Linked DNA regions of Homo sapiens: regions 2, 3 and 4 are each linked to region 1. The links are contacts of gene promoters, found by promoter capture Hi-C in blood cells and fetal thymus (Javierre and others, 2016). All regions are on one chromosome and are shown on one strand. Each heading gives the region's core, a stretch centred on a gene start or on the middle of the fragment in contact. The rest is flanking DNA. Distances are from core to core; before and after follow the strand shown.

The links. Contacts are between HindIII fragments. The CHiCAGO score rates a contact against its expected background, and 5 or more counts as called.
Region 2: the fragment with the promoter of HPN-AS1 here is called in contact with the fragment with the promoter of FFAR3 in region 1 in 10 of 17 cell types (naive CD8 T cells, naive B cells, total B cells and 7 more); the score reaches 12.2 in naive CD8 T cells.
Region 3: the fragment with the promoter of HAUS5 here is called in contact with the fragment with the promoter of FFAR3 in region 1 in 9 of 17 cell types (M0 macrophages, M1 macrophages, naive B cells and 6 more); the score reaches 10.0 in M0 macrophages.
Region 4: a contact is called between the fragment with the promoter of GAPDHS here and the fragment with the promoter of FFAR3 in region 1, in 17 of 17 cell types (M1 macrophages, M0 macrophages, M2 macrophages and 14 more). The highest score is 17.2, in M1 macrophages.

The regions. Positions count from the first base shown.
Region 1 is chr19:35,356,428-35,360,841 of GRCh38, forward strand. It overlaps FFAR3 (free fatty acid receptor 3), which reads left to right and starts at 2,033. Exons shown (of 2, transcript NM_005304.5): 1 at 2,033-2,222; 2 at 2,453-4,062. The coding sequence starts at 2,464. The coding sequence ends at 3,504. RefSeq lists an enhancer at 3,354-3,881. The HindIII fragment of the contact is 8,969 bases long and covers 1-4,414 here.
Region 2 is chr19:35,103,789-35,108,202 of GRCh38, forward strand. HPN-AS1 (HPN antisense RNA 1) reads right to left here and starts at 2,516. Exons shown (of 4, transcript NR_024562.1): 1 at 2,441-2,516. LOC124904701 (hepatitis A virus cellular receptor 1-like) reads left to right here. Exons shown (of 3, transcript XR_007067238.1): 2 at 711-3,048. The HindIII fragment of the contact is 15,680 bases long and covers 1-4,414 here.
Region 3 is chr19:35,610,428-35,614,841 of GRCh38, forward strand. HAUS5 (HAUS augmin like complex subunit 5) reads left to right here and starts at 2,308. Exons shown (of 19, transcript NM_015302.2): 1 at 2,308-2,465; 2 at 3,303-3,365; 3 at 3,441-3,473; 4 at 3,608-3,632. The coding sequence starts at 2,368. It overlaps HAUS5-DT (HAUS5 divergent transcript), which reads right to left and starts at 2,237. Exons shown (of 2, transcript NR_186318.1): 1 at 2,191-2,237. RefSeq lists enhancers at 2,042-2,597, 2,186-2,445. The HindIII fragment of the contact is 7,658 bases long and covers 1-4,414 here.
Region 4 is chr19:35,531,564-35,535,977 of GRCh38, forward strand. It overlaps GAPDHS (glyceraldehyde-3-phosphate dehydrogenase, spermatogenic), which reads left to right and starts at 1,893. Exons shown (of 11, transcript NM_014364.5): 1 at 1,893-2,031. The coding sequence starts at 1,965. RefSeq lists an enhancer at 2,750-2,879. The HindIII fragment of the contact is 5,250 bases long and covers 1-3,780 here.

The DNA.
Region 1 (4,414 bases), core at 783-3,282:
GCTCACTGCAGCCTTGAATTCCTGGGCTCAAGCGATTCTTCCATTTCAGCTTCCCAAGTAGCTGGGACCAGAGGCACATGCCACTAAACCCAGCTAATTTCTTTTTTCTTTCTCTCTTTTTTTTTTTTTTTTCCCCTGTGGACATAGGGTCTCCTCATGTTGCCCAGGCTAGTCTCAAACAACCTGTGCTCAAGCAATCCTCCCACCTCAGCCTGCCAAAGTGCTAAAATTACGGACCTGAGCCACCGTACCCAGCCTACTGCTGCACTTTTAACAGCTTAATTGAGATATTATGTACATATCATCAAATTCACCAATGTTAAGTGTACAATTCAATGATTTTTAGTAAATTTACTGAGGTGTGAGTCCATTACCATCAGCTAGTTTTAGAACATTTTCATGACCCTAGTAAAGGATTTTACTTCATGTTCATTTAAACTTAATCTTGGGCCAGGCGGGGTGGCTCACGCCTATAATCTCAGCATTTTGGGAGGCTGGGGTGGACGGATCACCTGAGGTCAGTAGTTCGAGACCAGCCTGGCCAACATGGCGAAACCTCATCTCTACTAAACATACAAAAATTAGCCAGGCGTGGTGGCGGGCACCTGTAATCCTAGCTACTTAGGAAGCTGAGGCATGAGAATTTCTTGAACCCGGGAGGCAGAGTTTGCAGTGAGCCAAGATTGCACCATTGCACTCCAGCCTGGGCGACAACAAGACCCTGTCTCAAAAAAAAAAAAAAAAAAAAAAAAACAACTTAATCTTCATTTCTACCTCCATCCCCCAGACAACCACGAGTCTACTTTCTGACTCTATAACTTTGCCTATTCTGGACATATCATATAAATAAATGAAATCTGACAATATATGTACATGGTCTTTTACGTCTGGCTTGTTTCACTCAACATAAGGCTGTAGTGTGTATGGGTAGCTCATTCCTTTTCTTTGCCAAATAGAATTCCAGTATATGGATGTGCCACTTTTTTATTCACTCACCAGCTGATGGGCTGCCAGGTAACATTTCCACTGTTGGTGACTATGACCAACACTGCTGTGAACATTTAGGACTGAGTCTTTAAGTAGACCTGAGTTTCCACTTCTCTTAAGTAAATACCTACGGTGGAATTGTTGGATCGCATGGTGAATTTATGTTTAACTTTTTAAGCAACTGCCACCTGCTTTCCAAAGCAGGGACACCACCTCCCATTATTCTCACCAGCAGTGAATGAGGCCCCTATCTCTCTACATTCTCGCCGACCATAGGCATTGTCTGACTTTTTGCTTGTGGCCATTCTAGTGGATGTGAAATCATATCTCATTGTGCCCTGTGATTGTTTGAATGAACTAATAGATCACCTGTGAAACTGGACAGCACTTGGGTTTGAACCCTAGTGGTGACATTTCACAAGCTGTATCACCTGGAGCAAGTCACTTCCCTACGGTGAAGGACAAGGATTTTATGACATAAAAGCGTTGCCCTAGAAGCAGTGTCTGCTATGGATTATGTGCCCATGAAAAGGCAGCTGCTGTCATCATCGCCACCACCATTATTATTGTTATTATTATTACATTGTCACCCCAGAGATAATCCTGCACCAGTGACAGGGAAAATAGCAGCTGGCATCCGCTGCCTGCTCACGACCACACGCCAGGCTTCCGTCAAACCACTCAACATGTATTAGTAATCTTTTAATCGACCTACATATTGTTTTAATTTGCATGTGTTAATGCGTTGATCTATGAGATGGGTATTATGATGAGCTCTGTTCTGCAGGGGAGAAAGCAGAAACATGGAGAATTTAAGTCATTTCCCCCAAATCACAAAGTCAGGAAGAAACAGACCTCACGGAGCTCGCTCTCTGTCATTGCATCACACTTCCTGCCCTTACAAGGCAAATTGGATAAATGCCATTCTAGAGAAGCAGACAAAATTCAAGTGAAGAAGGGGAGAGGAAGACGTCGGCTGGGGCCTGCTTAGAGCATCCCAGCTGAGACTGCATGAGGAGGGAGGCACGCAGTTGTGGAATTTGTTCCCCTTTTAGCATGCTGACCAGCCCTGGCAACGGAGCTCAAGGCATCTATGTGCCACTGCTCAACAGTGAGTGACGTCATGGGCACGGCCAGGTCTTTATCAGTTCTGCCGGATAAATAGCCAACTGCACTAGGTCTGGAGAGACAGCAAGGTGCTGTGCGGCAGAGCATTTGGGGTCTCAAAGAAGCAGGTGAGCCTGGGCCCGAGGGGCTGGGTGGAGGAGCACCTTGGTGCTTCTCTGCTGGGGAAGGGACAGGGGACAGGGCATGCTCAGGAAGACAGGCAGGCTGACCCCGCCTGGAAGGCACCCAGAGACAAGAGGGGTGGGCGTAGTGACCTCGTGCCCTTTTAGGGGAGATGCTGCTGGCCAGAGGCCGTTAGGGCCCCCACTACCAACTCCATGTTACTCTCTCTCACCAGTGGCCACCACCATGGATACAGGCCCCGACCAGTCCTACTTCTCCGGCAATCACTGGTTCGTCTTCTCGGTGTACCTTCTCACTTTCCTGGTGGGGCTCCCCCTCAACCTGCTGGCCCTGGTGGTCTTCGTGGGCAAGCTGCAGCGCCGCCCGGTGGCCGTGGACGTGCTCCTGCTCAACCTGACCGCCTCGGACCTGCTCCTGCTGCTGTTCCTGCCTTTCCGCATGGTGGAGGCAGCCAATGGCATGCACTGGCCCCTGCCCTTCATCCTCTGCCCACTCTCTGGATTCATCTTCTTCACCACCATCTATCTCACCGCCCTCTTCCTGGCAGCTGTGAGCATTGAACGCTTCCTGAGTGTGGCCCACCCACTGTGGTACAAGACCCGGCCGAGGCTGGGGCAGGCAGGTCTGGTGAGTGTGGCCTGCTGGCTGTTGGCCTCTGCTCACTGCAGCGTGGTCTACGTCATAGAATTCTCAGGGGACATCTCCCACAGCCAGGGCACCAATGGGACCTGCTACCTGGAGTTCCGGAAGGACCAGCTAGCCATCCTCCTGCCCGTGCGGCTGGAGATGGCTGTGGTCCTCTTTGTGGTCCCGCTGATCATCACCAGCTACTGCTACAGCCGCCTGGTGTGGATCCTCGGCAGAGGGGGCAGCCACCGCCGGCAGAGGAGGGTGGCGGGGCTGTTGGCGGCCACGCTGCTCAACTTCCTTGTCTGCTTTGGGCCCTACAACGTGTCCCATGTCGTGGGCTATATCTGCGGTGAAAGCCCGGCGTGGAGGATCTACGTGACGCTTCTCAGCACCCTGAACTCCTGTGTCGACCCCTTTGTCTACTACTTCTCCTCCTCCGGGTTCCAAGCCGACTTTCATGAGCTGCTGAGGAGGTTGTGTGGGCTCTGGGGCCAGTGGCAGCAGGAGAGCAGCATGGAGCTGAAGGAGCAGAAGGGAGGGGAGGAGCAGAGAGCGGACCGACCAGCTGAAAGAAAGACCAGTGAACACTCACAGGGCTGTGGAACTGGTGGCCAGGTGGCCTGTGCTGAAAGCTAGGTCCTCCGGGGGAGGAGGGTGTAGCTGGCATGTCATCCTCAGGGCGCTTCCTCGCTCACGCCAGGAGGGACTTGGAGTGGCGAGCTGGGGCCCGATGGGGCTTGGGGGCAGAGTAGACATCTAGCCTCCCTAAGGGTATGCGCGCTAAAGCCCAGCTCTCGATCTCACCTCCATCCCCATCCACCCACACACTATGGATTGGGCTCTGGGAAGGGGTCAGGGTGAGAGGCTGCTCTGGAGAACAATGAGGTCCTCATAGCAGCAGGCAGCTCCTGTGTTTTCTTGAGGGTGGCAGAGGAGCTAAGAGCAGTGCCCAGGGTCTGAGGGGGCTGCCCAGTGAGTGGCAGGGGCAGGAGAGGGGAGAACCCCATCCTCAGAGCTGCTCCCAGCCAGCGAGTCAGGAGCGGGGGAGACAGGGCTCCAGGGATGAGGCCGCATTCTGCTCCCACAGCGCCTTTTCCAGAAAGTTCCCATTGCTCAATAAATGTGGATCATCAGAGACATTTATGAACAATGACAGAAGAAAAATTACCCAAATAAATGTGGAAGCAAGCAAAAGAGAACAGTGTTTCCTTCTTCTCCTGTTTTGTTCTGGTGGTGTGCTTGGGCCGGGTGGGACTGGTGGATGGAAGGAGAAAACACCAGACTCTGGAGGAAAAGGGCCAAACACCAGGATGCCTGGATGCTGGGAGAGGATCTGGCTTGCAGGGATGAAAATAACAGCTGCCCTGTCTAAAGGACTTGGCCTGACACATCATCTCCTTCTATCTCTCAATAGCCCTGTGAGAGGTACCAGCATTATCCCCAGTTTCAGATGAAGGAGTGGCCCAGAGAGGTGACACCTCCTACCTGAGATCCCATAGCTGGTGGGCGATTGAAGTGGGACCAGAAGCTGGTGTCAGTTGACTCT
Region 2 (4,414 bases), core at 1,266-3,765, 250 kb before region 1:
TAATCCCAGCACGTTGGGAGGCTGAGGCAGGAGGATAGCTTGAGCCCAGGAGTTCAAGACCAGCCTGGGCAACATAGTGAGACCCCATCTCTACAAAAAATCAAGTACATTATCCAGGTGTGATGGTGCGTCTGTAGTCCCAACAAGTCGAGAGACTGAGGCGAGAGAATCACTTGAGCCCATGATGTTGAAGCTGCAGTGAGCCGAGATCATGCCATTGCACTGTAGCTTGAGTGACAGAGCGAGACCCTGTCTCCAAAAAAAACAAAAAGGGAAGCAGTGAAGTGTGGAGCAGAGATCGGAAGGAGAGACCGGGAGCCATGTAGATACAAGGGGAGAGTGTCCAGGCAGAGGAGCAGAGGCTGGAAGGGTGCCTGGTGTGTTGGAGGAGTGGTGGGGAGACCCGGGGAGCTGGCGCAGAGTGGGCAGATGAGTGAAGGGGTGTGTGAGACAAGATGAGGACAGAGGGGACAGAGGTTTATTTTGTGGGACTGCCCAGGCCACGGTGGCGAGTTTGGATTTTCTCCAAGTGTACTAGGGAGGTATGGAAAGGTTTTGAGCAAAGGAGGGATAGGATCTAATGTGCGATTTCAAAGGGCTCCTTGGGTGCTATGTGCAGAGTGGATCTCAGCAGTGGCAGGAGCAGGGGCCCAGGAGGGGCAGGTGTCTGGACGTGGTTGCCCGACGTAGCCTGGGTGTCTGTGTTCCAGGTGAACGGCTCCCAGGCTGGCCTGCCCCTGACTCTGGCTGGGGGGCACACTCCAGGCCTTCTTCACGCCCTTGGCCATCACAGTCCAGGTGGCACCCGGCCTCTCCATGACCTTTCACGAATCCCATGCCCTCTGAGTGGCAGTGCCTGAGACCTACACCAACACCCTCTGTGGCCTGGGCGGGGACTTCAGCGTGGATACCCAGGATGACTTCAGCGGCTCTGATAGCACATGGCTCTCTGATGCCAACAGCTTAATGGGGGCCCAGCCCCTCTGTGCCCACCAGACAAGGCAGCCCTATACCAGGCCTTCTGTGGCTTGCTGGGCACCCAAGATGGGCCCTACAGGGCCTGCAGTAAGGACGTGGATCCCCAGGTGCATGTGGAGAACTGCATCCATGACCTCTGTGCCACGGGGGGCTCAAGAGAGACTCTGTGTGCCATACTGGGGAGCTACGCCCAGGAAAGCCAGCAGCGCAGCGTTCCCATGCAGCCCTGGAGACACCTCTTGGCCTGCAGTAAGTGGGTATTCCCAGGGAGGGTCTTTCTCAGCCTGACCTCCCCAGCTGGCCCAATACCACTTCCAGGATGTCCTCCTAGGTCAACACCACCCAAAGTGACCCACTGCATGCCTTTCTGGCTAACTGTTCCCGCGAAGAACCTACCTGCTTAAAACTCTGCAATAACAATAACAGATGACACTGAGTGCTATTGCATCAGTCAGGATGGTCTGGGTTATGCTGAAGTAACGAACTAACCTGAACATGACCCAGCATGACCAAGGTTGTTTCTTCATCACTATCTTCGTCACCTTTGTCATCATCACAGTCACTATCATCATTACCGTCACCATCACCACCACCACCAGCGTCACCATCACCACCACCACCAGCCTCACCACCACCACCACCACCAGCATTACCATCATCACCACCACCACCATCACCACAAGCATTACCATCATCACTACCACCACCATCATTGTTACCACAACCACAACCATCACCACCATCACCATCATCATTGTTACCACAGCCACAGCCATCATCACCACTACCATCACCACCATCATCACCATCACCACCATCACCATCATCATCACCACCACCACCACCATCAACATCATCATCACCATCATAACCATCACCACCAGCATCACCATCACCACCAGCATCAGCATCACCATCACTACTATAATCACCATCACCATTATCACTACCACCACCATCATTGTTACCACAACCACAACTATTGTCATCACCACCACCACCACCCTCACCACTATCATCACTGTCACCATCACCGCTATCATTACCATCACCATCAACACCATCACATCACCAACAACATCACCAGCCCTACCACCATCATCATCATTACTATCACCACGACCACCACCACCACCATTATCACCACCATGATCACGCCACCAGCATTATCACCACCGTGACCACGCCGCCACCGTTAATCACCGCCGTGACCACGCCGCCACCGTTATCACCGCCGTGACCACGCCGCCACCGTTATCACCGCCGTGACCACGCCGCCACCGTTATCACCGCCGTGACCACGCCGCCACCATTATGCTACATCCTGATGATGCCTCCACCTCCCCTCCTTTGCCTTTATGACTTACCCTTGGCCCCCACAACCCTCTCTCCGCTCCCTTGGTCCTATTCTGGTTGGAAATGCTCCAGAATAGTAATGCTTGCTCAATTATTTAACTCCTACCTGTTTTCTTCCAGAGCTGGCCTGTCCTCCCCGCAGCAATTACGAGCTCTGCGGCTCCTCCTGTCCTAGCTCTTGTGCCGAGCCTGCCCTGCCCGACAGCTGCCTGACACCATGCCAGGATGGCTGCCAGTGTGACCCAGGCTTTGTGCTCAGTGGCATGGACTGCGTGCCCCCAATCCAGTGCAGCTGCTCCATGGGGGGCAGGTACCACCACCCGGCTGGGGAGGCCTTCTGGACTGGGGAGCGCTGTGAGCAATTCTGCCACTGCCAGGCCTCCACCCACGCCGTGTGCTGCTCCCCGTCCTCCTGTGGGCCGGGGCAGAGATGTGAGACCCTCAGGGGCATCTTTGGGTGCCACCCACTCTCCCCTGGCATTTATCAAGCAACCATGCACTCACACGTCGCCTCCTTTGACCGGAAGAGTGTTGAGTTTCCAGGCACTTGCGCTTCTGCTTTTACCAAGTCCTGTGGCTCCTCCAGCTCATTGCGCCTTTTCAAGGTGGAAATTGGGAAGGAGAAACAAGTCCAGCAGTCCCATTGTGTTCATTTCAAAGATGTAGGTTCATGGGACCCAGGTTTGTCTGCAGAGAGAGCCCCGACCTGATGAGGTAAGCACTCATTGGCATCTAGAGACTCTTGAACCGATTGAAGCTAAAAGAAATACATTGGCTCAAACTAAGTAAAAATCATGTGATAGCCTAGTGAAAGTGTAGAGATTCTGGGTCCACAGAAGTTCCCTATATACCACTTTGGCTGTTTTGGTTACAGAAAGCCTCATAAAAGGTAACTCAAACCAGTCACAGACTGTGTTTTATGATTTTTAGACTAATTACATAACTGAAAATTCCAGAGGGAGATCAGGCATGGTTTGATCAGGGTGCTAACTCAGTTTTTCAGCATTTCTCTTGGTCTGTGTTTCTCTATAGCATTAGCTTTGTCCTCAGGCTGGCTTTTCTTGTGATGGCAAAATAACTGCCAATTTTCCAGTCATTAAATGTGTATTCCCCATTGTCCAAAACCCGAATCTTTTCTTACCCCAAGTACTCAACAAAAATTCCAATGCTTCACTTTGATTAAACCCCACTGAGCCAATCAGTGCAGCCCAGAGGTTTTCTTAAGCCTATCTAATCCTACTCAGGAGTTGTAGGTGGGAGAGATCCTGCCCCTACCCCCCATCTCTGGCAGCTACTTCTTGCAGGGAGAGAGGGCAAAATGGGAATCCACCCCTGTGTCCCTATGTCCCCCGAAACCAGTATTTCTTCTTAACAATCTTCAAAGAGTGTAAATGCCCTGGTAAACCTCCACTCTGAGACCTGAAACTTTTGTCTAGAACCCACAGGGGTGGATGTGTTTTCTAGGCCCGAGGGCCCCTGCCTACAAGAGTTCCATTGTTGGCTATTGGAAAACACACAGCCACACCCCTCCCACTCCACCCCCTTCCAGGAAGGGAACCAGCTTTCAGAATTAGTCATGCTGTCAGCGTCCCACACAACGAGCCCATTGACTCCAAAGGGCAGCACAGCAGATGGACTGCTATTATCCCAGTGGTACAGATGGGGAAACTGAGGCCCGGGAAGGCAGACTTGCTTGCCTAATGTCGCATAAGGAGAAAGTGGCTGTGCTAGGATTGGAACCCAGGCTGTCAGGTTCTGAGCCCTTCCCTTTCTGTCTGTGGGCCTACTGTGTGCTCCCAAAAAGCTGTGGCCAAATTAAGGAGGTGGCATGTCTGATTCATCTGTGGCGGGGCCTGGGATATATAGTAACTCTCAACAATGGTGTTCATTAGTCCGGGCATGGAGGCTCACGCCTGTAATTCCAGCACTTTGGGAGGCCGAGGCGAGTGGATCACCTGAGGTCAGGAGTTCGAGACCAGCCTGGCCAACATGGAGAAACCCCATCTCTACTAAAAATACAAAAAAATTGCACTTTAGGAGGCTGAGGCGGGCAGATCACCTGAGGTAGGGAGTTCGAGAC
Region 3 (4,414 bases), core at 1,058-3,557, 250 kb after region 1:
CACCCAGCAGAGGCTTCTCCCCATGCACAGCACTGTGAGGTTCAGGCACCTGGGCACAGTAACCACAGTGATTCCTGGAAGCTGGTGGGCATGCTATCCTGGGGCCATCTGAACTGGGAAAAGCTGTGTGAGTTCTTGGGGGCCAGCTTGTAGCCTTTTTGGCTGGGGCCAGGTTGAAGGTCTTCCTGGGAACCAGAGTCAAGAGCGGCCACTTACATTAAGCGGATAAAGCCCACGACTTTCTTGAGCTGCTTGACAGCTGTACCAAAAAGGCACAAACCCATTGAGGATATTATGAAACATGAATACAGATGATTATTTTATTTTGGTTTGGTTTTGTTTTGGCTTTGAGACAGGGTCACCCAGGCTGGAGTGCAGTGGTGCCATCATAGCTCACTGAAGCCTCAACCTCCCAGGCTCAACTGATCCTCCTGTTTCAACCCCCCAAGTAGATGGGACTACAAGCGTGCACCACCACGCCTGGCTAATTTTTTTTAATTTTTAATAGAGACAAGGTTTTGCTGTGGTGCCCAGGTGGGTCTCAAATTCCTAGCCTCAAACATTCCTCCCACCTCAACCGCCCGAAGTGCTGGGATTACAGGCATGAGCCACCACGCCCAGCCATTGCCTTATAATTTTTTACTGATGTCAGATATTGTTAATTTTACAGTGTTGGATGCTGGATTTTTTTTAATCTCTATAAATATTCTTGAATTTTGTTCTGGAATGCAGCTAAATAATAGCTTGATCCTTTCGGGCCTTGCTTTTAAGCATGGTTGGTTAGTCAGCATCAGAGAAGTATTTCATCTAGGGCAGGGGCAGGGGTCTCCAAACCCCAAGCCGTGAACCAATACAAGTCCATGGCCTGTTAGAAACCAGGCTGCACAGCAGGAGGTGAGTGGCGTATGGGTGAGCATCACTGCCTGAGCTCCACCTCCTGCCAGATCAGGAGCGGCATTAGATTCTTACAGGAGCGCAAACCCTATTGTGAACTGTGCATACGAAGGATCTAGATTGCGCACTCCTTATGAGAATCTAATGCTTAGGCGGGGCATGGTGGCTCACACCTGTAATGCTAGCACTTTGGGAGGCTGAGATGGGCTGATCACTTAAGGTCAGGAGTTCAAGACCAGCCTGGCCAACATGGTGAAACCCCGTCTCTACTAAAAATACAAAAATTAGCTGGGCATGGTAGCGGGCGCCTGTAATCCCAGCTACTCAGGAGGCTGAGGCAGTAGAATCGCTTGAACCCCGGAGGCAAAGATTGCGCTGAGCCGAGATCGGGCCACTGCACTCCAGCCTGGGTGAAAGAGGGAGACTTCACCTCAAAAAAAAAAACAGGGAAGAAAAAAAAAAAGAGAGAGAGAGACAGAGAATATAATGCCTCACGACCTGAAGTGGAACAGTTTCATCCCGAAACCATCCACTGCTCCCACCCTCCATCCCCCAGACTGTGGAAAAATTGTCTTCCATGAAACCAGTCCCTGATGCTCAAAAGGTTGGGGACTGCTGGTCTAGCGCAGACCTCTCACACCTGCTGTGTCCCAAATTGACCCACCCCTGCTGCTTATTTTTACCACCCCTACCTGGTGGTGCGTCTGTCTCCCCACTCAACTGTGAGCTCCGTACAATAGGGACCAGGGCTGTTGTGGTCACCATGGTGTCCCCAGCATCACCCAGCACAGGGTCAGCTCCCTGAGTTTATGGAATGGTAAGCACGAATGAATGGGAAAACGCATGCCAGGGAAATGTTAGGGTCATGCTCTCTGCCCCTACCCTCCACTCAGACATGAGACACCTGTTTCTGAAATCAAAGAGCAGTAAGTCCAGGATCTCATTGCCTGGTTCCAGTCCTCCTAGGACGCAAGTCCCATTTTGTCAAGAAAATAAAGGGGGTGAGCGTGGTGGCTCACGCCTGTAATCCCAACATTTTGGGAGGCCGAGGCGGGAGGATCGCTTGAGCCCAGGAGTTCAAGAGCCCAGAAGCTGAGACTAGCCTGGGCAACAAGTGAGATCCCATCTCTATTAAAATAAAAGTGTTTAGTTAAAAGAAGAAAAAGAAAATAAATGGAAGCATCAAGGACTGTTTTGCCTCTTTCGGGTTAGCTGGTAGTGAGCGGGAGAACGAGGGAAGGCGGGCGGGGCTGCAGTCTCTCCACGCCCTTTTCATTTCCACTCAAGGAGACCTACCTGGGAAGAGTGAGCGCTGCAAGACCCAGCCTGACCGCGCTAAGATTACTATGCAGCGCCCGAGCCCGCTGTCTGCCCGGCAACCGATGACGTCACTGTTGGCGCGCCCGTGACGTCAGAGGCGGGCGCCACACTTGAAGAGGCTGAGGGAGGCGGTGTCGCCGCCGCGGCGCTGTCATGGAGCTAGCGCAGGAAGCGCGGGAACTGGGTTGCTGGGCGGTCGAAGAGATGGGGGTGCCCGTGGCGGCCCGGGCCCCGGAATCGACGCTGCGCAGGTGAGGACCGCTCCTGGAGTGAGGACACCCCACCCTGGAGATTGAGTCTCCGGGAGTGAGAACTCCACCCCTCATTGAGGACTCGACTCCCCCCAATTCCCCATCGAGAGTGACCCGACTTACTGAGGGCTCCCTACCCTGGGAGGCTCCCCAGAGTGAGGTCCCTAGCACTGGTGAGGATCCTCCACGAGTTAGCTAAGACCTCGCTCCTTATGGAAATAGGATCTCCAGAGTGAGGCTGTCCCCGCAGCACCTCCCCTCCCTCCCTTAACCTAACCAAGAAGGACACTCAGGAGTTAGCCGTGGCCACCCCATCGGGGATTGAAGCTGTAGGAGTGATGCCCCACGTCTGGTCATGAGATGGCACTTCCTGGCAGTACATCCCCCACCTCCACCTCTGGATGTGACTGGGATAACCCACTCCCAGGAGAAAGGGAGCACCCGCCTCTCCCGCGCTCCCCCACCACCCGCCTTCCCAGGGAATGAGAATAACACCACACTTAGTGCAAACATCCAGTCCCTACAAAAAAAATGTTTTACCAATTAGCCGGGTGTAGTGGTGCCTGCCTGTAGTCCTAGCTACTCTGGAGGCTGAGGTGGGAGGATCGCATGAGCCCAGGAGGTTGAGGCTGCAAGGAGCTATGATCGTACCACTGCGACAGAGCGAGACTGTCTCTTAAAAAAAAAAAAAAAAAAAAGGCAAAAAAAAGTTTGGGCCTTCCCTCCTCAAGAAGTGAGAACTCCCTAGTAAAAACTCCCTACCACCATCACCCTAGGAATGAGGATCCCACACCCTGTGTGCTGCCCCAGGCATATGCTTACACACTGTCCCCACAGGCTGTGTCTGGGCCAGGGGGCTGACATCTGGGCCTACATCTTGCAGCATGTGCACAGTCAGAGGTAAGCTGGGCTAGAGCAGGGGAGGGGGCACAGGTGAGGCCCATAGTAACTCCTCTTTCTGCCTCTGCACTGTAGGACTGTCAAGAAGATCCGGGGAAACCTACTCTGGTAACTGCTTCTTAAAGCTATCCCCTCCTGTCTTCCCCACTCCCATTTAGCCCTGTCCCCACCACAGCATCACACCTATTGCCCTCCCCCCTAGAAGCCCCACTCATCCGCTGACTCTGGCCTCGTTTTCCTAGGTATGGCCACCAGGACAGTCCACAGGTGAGAAGCATATGCTACAAGATTCTCTTTCATCCGAAAAATGACTTGTAGATCTTCTGCTCTAAGCCCAACCAGGTGCTGGGTGATGCTGGGGACAATGGGTCACAAGACAGCCTTGATCTCCATCCTCATAGGGCTTAAAGTCCAGTGGAAACAGCATTAGCTCAGCCAGGTGCAGTGGCTCACACCTGTAATCCCAGCACTTTGGGAGGCTCACCTGAGGCCTCATCTCAGGTGATGAGATCACCTGAGGGCTCCAGGAAGCGATCAGTACTGGGACAAAGATGTGGTTTGGGAGGCGGATCACCTGAGGTCAGGAGTTCGAGACCAGCCTGGCCAACACGGTGAAGCCCTGTCTCTAATAAAAATAAAAAATTAGCCAGGCGTGGTGGCACACGCCTGTAATCCTAGCTACTTGGGAGGCTGAGGCAGGAGAATCGCTTGAACCTGGGAGGCAGAGGTTGCAGTGAGCTGAGATCGCACTACTGCACTCCAGCCTGGGCAATAGAGCGAGACTCTATCTCAAAAAAAGAAAAAATAAATAAAGAGCATTAATTAGCTGGGCGCAGAGAGGTGGGACCTGGATATGTGGCATCAAAGCTGGTGAGAAGAGATGATGGGACAGGTATGGGAGAGATGCTGAGGCCAGTGTGGGACCCAATGGGTGCAAGGGGCTCATATGACACCTAAGGGGAGGCTTCCAGGAGGCCTTGGGACTTCTAGGTGCAGGGCTCCGGGAAGAGATCAGTACTGGGACAAAGATGTGGTTGTCACCAGCACAG
Region 4 (4,414 bases), core at 643-3,142, 170 kb after region 1:
TTTGTATTGTTCTAAGTGCTGGAGGCACAGTCGTGAACAAACAAACAAGAACAGGAGCCCTGTGAGGGGCTTAGAGCCCAAGGGGGAGACATCGAACAAATAAACCAATCAGTAGATCATGACAAACTACATGAAAAGCTACAAGGAAAAGAATGGGTGCTGCGAGAAGATATAACGTGAAGAGTTTGATAAGATTGGCGATCAGGGCCGGGCGAGGTGGTTCACGCCTGTAATCCCACCACTTTGGGAGGCCGAGGCAGATGGATCACCTGAGGTCAGGAGTTTGAGATCAGCCTGGCCAACATGGTGAAACCCCGTCTCTACTAAAAATACAAAAACAAAAAAAAAATTAGCTAGGTGTAGTGGCGCACGCCTGTAGTCCCAGCTACTCAGGAGGCTGAGGCGGGAGAATCACTTGAACCCAGGAGGCGGAGGTTGCGGTGAGCTGAGATCGCACCATTGCACTCCAGCCTAGGCAACAAGAGCGAAACTCTGTCTCAAAAAAAAGAAAAGAAAAGAAAAGATTAGCGATCAGATGAAACCTGAGGAATTGACATTTATTCATTCAGGTATAGTTTATTGGGCTAACGCCTTTTTCAGACAGGGTCTTGCTCTGTCTCCCAGCTGGAGTGCAGTGACACAATCACAGCTCACTGCAGCCTTGACCTCCTAGGCTCAAGTGATCCTCCCACCTCAGCCTCCCTAATAATTGGGACAACAGGCATGCACCACCACACCTGGCTACTTTTTTTATTTTTTGTAGATACAGGGTTTTGCCACATTGCCCATGTTGGTCTCAAACTCCTGGACTCAAATGATCCTCCCACCTCAGCCTCCCAAAGTGTTGGGATTACAGGCATGAGCCACTGCGTCCAGCCCACAAACACCTTTCAGGTGCCAAACACTTTTCTTGTCAATGGGATACAGAAGTGACATAGATGACGTCCCTGTCCTCTCAGAGCTTACAGTCTGGTGGACAGAGACAGTTGGCAAGAAAACAAACAATTTTTAGAGAGACATGTGCTCTAAGGAAAATAAAAACATAGACAGTGTAGCCCTAGAGAAATTTTGCACACTGAAGCATAACTCAGAATGGAGAAGTCAGACAAGGCTTCCTGGAAGATGGGCAGAAATTGGGAAGGGGGTGACGGCTGACAGTGACAGAGAAAGGAGGGAACTTAGATGCAGAGTGTAGAAAGCCTCTCTTAAAGGGTGGGAAACCAAGAGGCAGCCAAGGGAAGCCCTGGGTGGGCCTTCCAGGCATACGGAGGCAGCAAGAGTCACTCCACTGGAGAATCCAAGGGACAGCATGGAACCTGTGTGCTTCAAGAGACAGAGAAGAGGAAAGGGCTTTCAGGAACAGTGTAAAAGGTGGGATTCCAGGCTGGGTGTGGTGGCTCGCTCCTGTAATCCCAGCATTTTGGAAGGCCGAGGTGGGAGGATCGCTTGAGCCCAAGGGTTCTAGACCAGCCTGAGCAAAAGAGTGAGACCCTCTCTCTACAAAAAAATAAAAAGTAAAAATAGCCTGCAGTGGTGGCTGCACATGTAGTCCCAGCTACTCAGGAGGCCGAGGCGGGAGGATCGCTTGAGCCCAGGAGTTCAAGGCTGCAGTGAGCCATGATTGCACCACTGCACTCCAGCCTAGGAGAAAGAGTGACACCCCGTCTCAAAATAAATAAACAAATGATAATTTTAAAAAGTGGGATTCCATTCCAGACGGCAGTGCGTGGCCGTGGAACGGTGATGCATAGCGTGCTGACGTCCCATGCCTCTACGGGGATGGGATGCGATGGTGTCAGGCCTCTGGCTTGGGCGCCGCCCCTCGGCGACGTCACTGGGTACTGTGACGTCACTGGGTGCTGTGACATCAGGGCAATTAGCCCAGGACCCACAGCCCTGGCGCTCCGCACGCACCTCGGTAACATCACAGCAGGTCCAGGCCAATGATAACCTTATAAGAGGCCATGTCGAAGCGCGACATCGTCCTCACCAATGTCACCGTTGTCCAGTTGCTGCGACAGCCGTGCCCGGGTGAGGGAGGCAGCGGAGGGCGCGGGGGAGGGGTGGAAAGGGTAGTGGGGAGCGTCTGCACCCTCACACCTGTGCCGTATCCCTACCGCCCTTCCTGGCGTGTGCACCATCTAGGGACCAGGGGATCAGCCGCTCTCCCTCCCTCCACACCCGCCAGTGTGCTGGCAGAGTGGGGTTTACTGCCATGGCGGGGAGACCGGGCCTCCGCCCCCAGGGCTGGGTGGGCTTCGCGCCGCTATCACGCGGTAGAAAGAGCAGAAACGAGGGCCATCGGAGGCTGCAGCCTGAAAGTGGCGGGAAGTGGGCGGGCTTAGGAGGGGCTTAGGGAGAACCCAGGGGTGCTGGGCTTCCATGTAAAAGTGATGTTCATGGCGCTTCGCGTGAGGTGAGCTTTGCCCTCCCTGTGATGCACAAAACAAGGACACTTGGAACCTTGCCGGGGACGTGCTGACCACTTCGCAGGCGAGAGCTCAGGGAAGCCTCACCACCACCTGAGAAGGCCAGAGTGTGCCCGCAGTTTACAGAGCGGCCAACAGAGGTTAAGAGAGGGCAAACTACTTCCTTAGTCTCTCAACAAGGGCGGCGCGCCCGCGCGCGCGCACACACACACACACACACTCACTCACTCACTCTAGCCGGAGGAACCAGGTCTTCCGGTGGGCTGCCTCCATTCCCACACTGTTCCCTCACTTCCCAAGGGCGGGGGCCGCAGGGGTAGGTGGGGCTGGGGCTTTGGTCCAGGAGACCCTGGAAGACACAGGAGCAGACAGGCTTACCAGCCTCATGAGACTTGAACCCCTGCCCTGCGCATCACTGCTCCGTGGCCTCAGGCTTCATTTTCCCCTCTGTAAAGTGGGTTTATAGCGCATGCCTCTCGGGATTCAGTGGGAGGACGCAGTGAGGAGCTGGGGGCAGCACCCAGCTAGCCCCCAGGCTTTTCTCCAACCGGGGGACCCCACCCCTACAGTGGAGGGGAAGAGAGTGCAAGGCTGGGAGTGCTGGGAGAGGAGGACCATCTGAGTTTTCTTCGGAAGGGTCACCCATTGGGCTCAGATTCCCACCTGAACCAGGTGGACAAATCCCCTTTCTCCCATAGCAGAAACAACCCCCAAGGATGCAAACATCCTCAAGTTCACCAATAAACACTAACACCTTCATGAACTTGGACAGCCACTGGAAACACCTATAGTCCAGCCTCAGGCCACAAGGTCTGTGGCAACAGGGAGAGGTCAGGGAGACAGACAGGCCAGCTGGCCCCCGGCTCCCAGCCCCACCACCCCCCAGGTGCCTTTGATTTGGTGCCAAAAACTTGGACTCCCACTACCCCCTTCCAGCCCTTCTCCACCCCCTGCTGTCTCCCTTTCCTCAGGAATCTGTGTAGGATCAGACTTCCCTCCTCTATTAAAATCAGCTCCTATGTGTGGGCCTCGAGATCTCACTGCGCCCTCACAGCAGCCCCTAGGTGGGGGATCAGCCCCAAGAGGTTCATTAACTTGCTCAAATCCACAGAGCAGCAGGTCTGTGTGGACTGAGCCAGGCTTGACTTTCCAGCTTGAAACTCTCTGCCACCAGGTCCCCTGAGTCTCCACTTCTCCCCTCTTCTCAAGCCCTCCTCTGTAGCTCAGGCGGCTGCTACCTCCAGGCGCAGGTGTTTTTAAGTGCAGTCTGGGAGCAGGAGTGTGTGTGGAGAGGTGGGAGCCAATGTGAGCTTCCATGGGTTTCACAGAGTATGATACACGGTACTCTCTAAGCTTCCCTGAGGATAAGAAATGCCTGGAGTGCTTATTTTATTTTTTATTTTTTTTTGGGAGATGGAGTTTCGCTCTTGTTGCCCAGGCTGGAGTGCAGTGGCACGATCTCGCCCACCACAACCTCCGCCTCCTGGGTTCAAGCGATTCTCCTGCTTCAGCCTCCTGAGTAGCTGGGATTACAAGCATGTGCCACCACGCCTGGCTAATTTTTTTGTATTTTTAGTAGAGACGGGGTTTCTGCATGTTGGTCAGACTGGTCTCAAACTCCCAACCTCAGGTGATCTGCCTGCCTCGGCCTCCCAAAGTGCTGGGATTACAGGCGTGAGCCACCGCTCCCGGCCTGGAGTGCTGATTAAAAACAGGATTTCTGGGCCTCCATACAGACCCACTGAGTCCGATTTTTCTAGGAAGAGCCCTCCTCAGGTGATTTTTTTTTTTTTTTGAGACAGAGTCTCACTCTGTCGCCCAGGCTGGAGTGCAGTGGCGCAATCTCGGCTCACTGCACCCTCCGCCTCCCAGGTTCAAGAGATTCTCTTGCCTCAGCCCCCCGAGGAGCTGGGATTACAGTATTTTTAGTAGAGAACAGGTTTCTCCATGTTGGCCAAGCTGGTCTTGAACTCCTGACCTCAAGT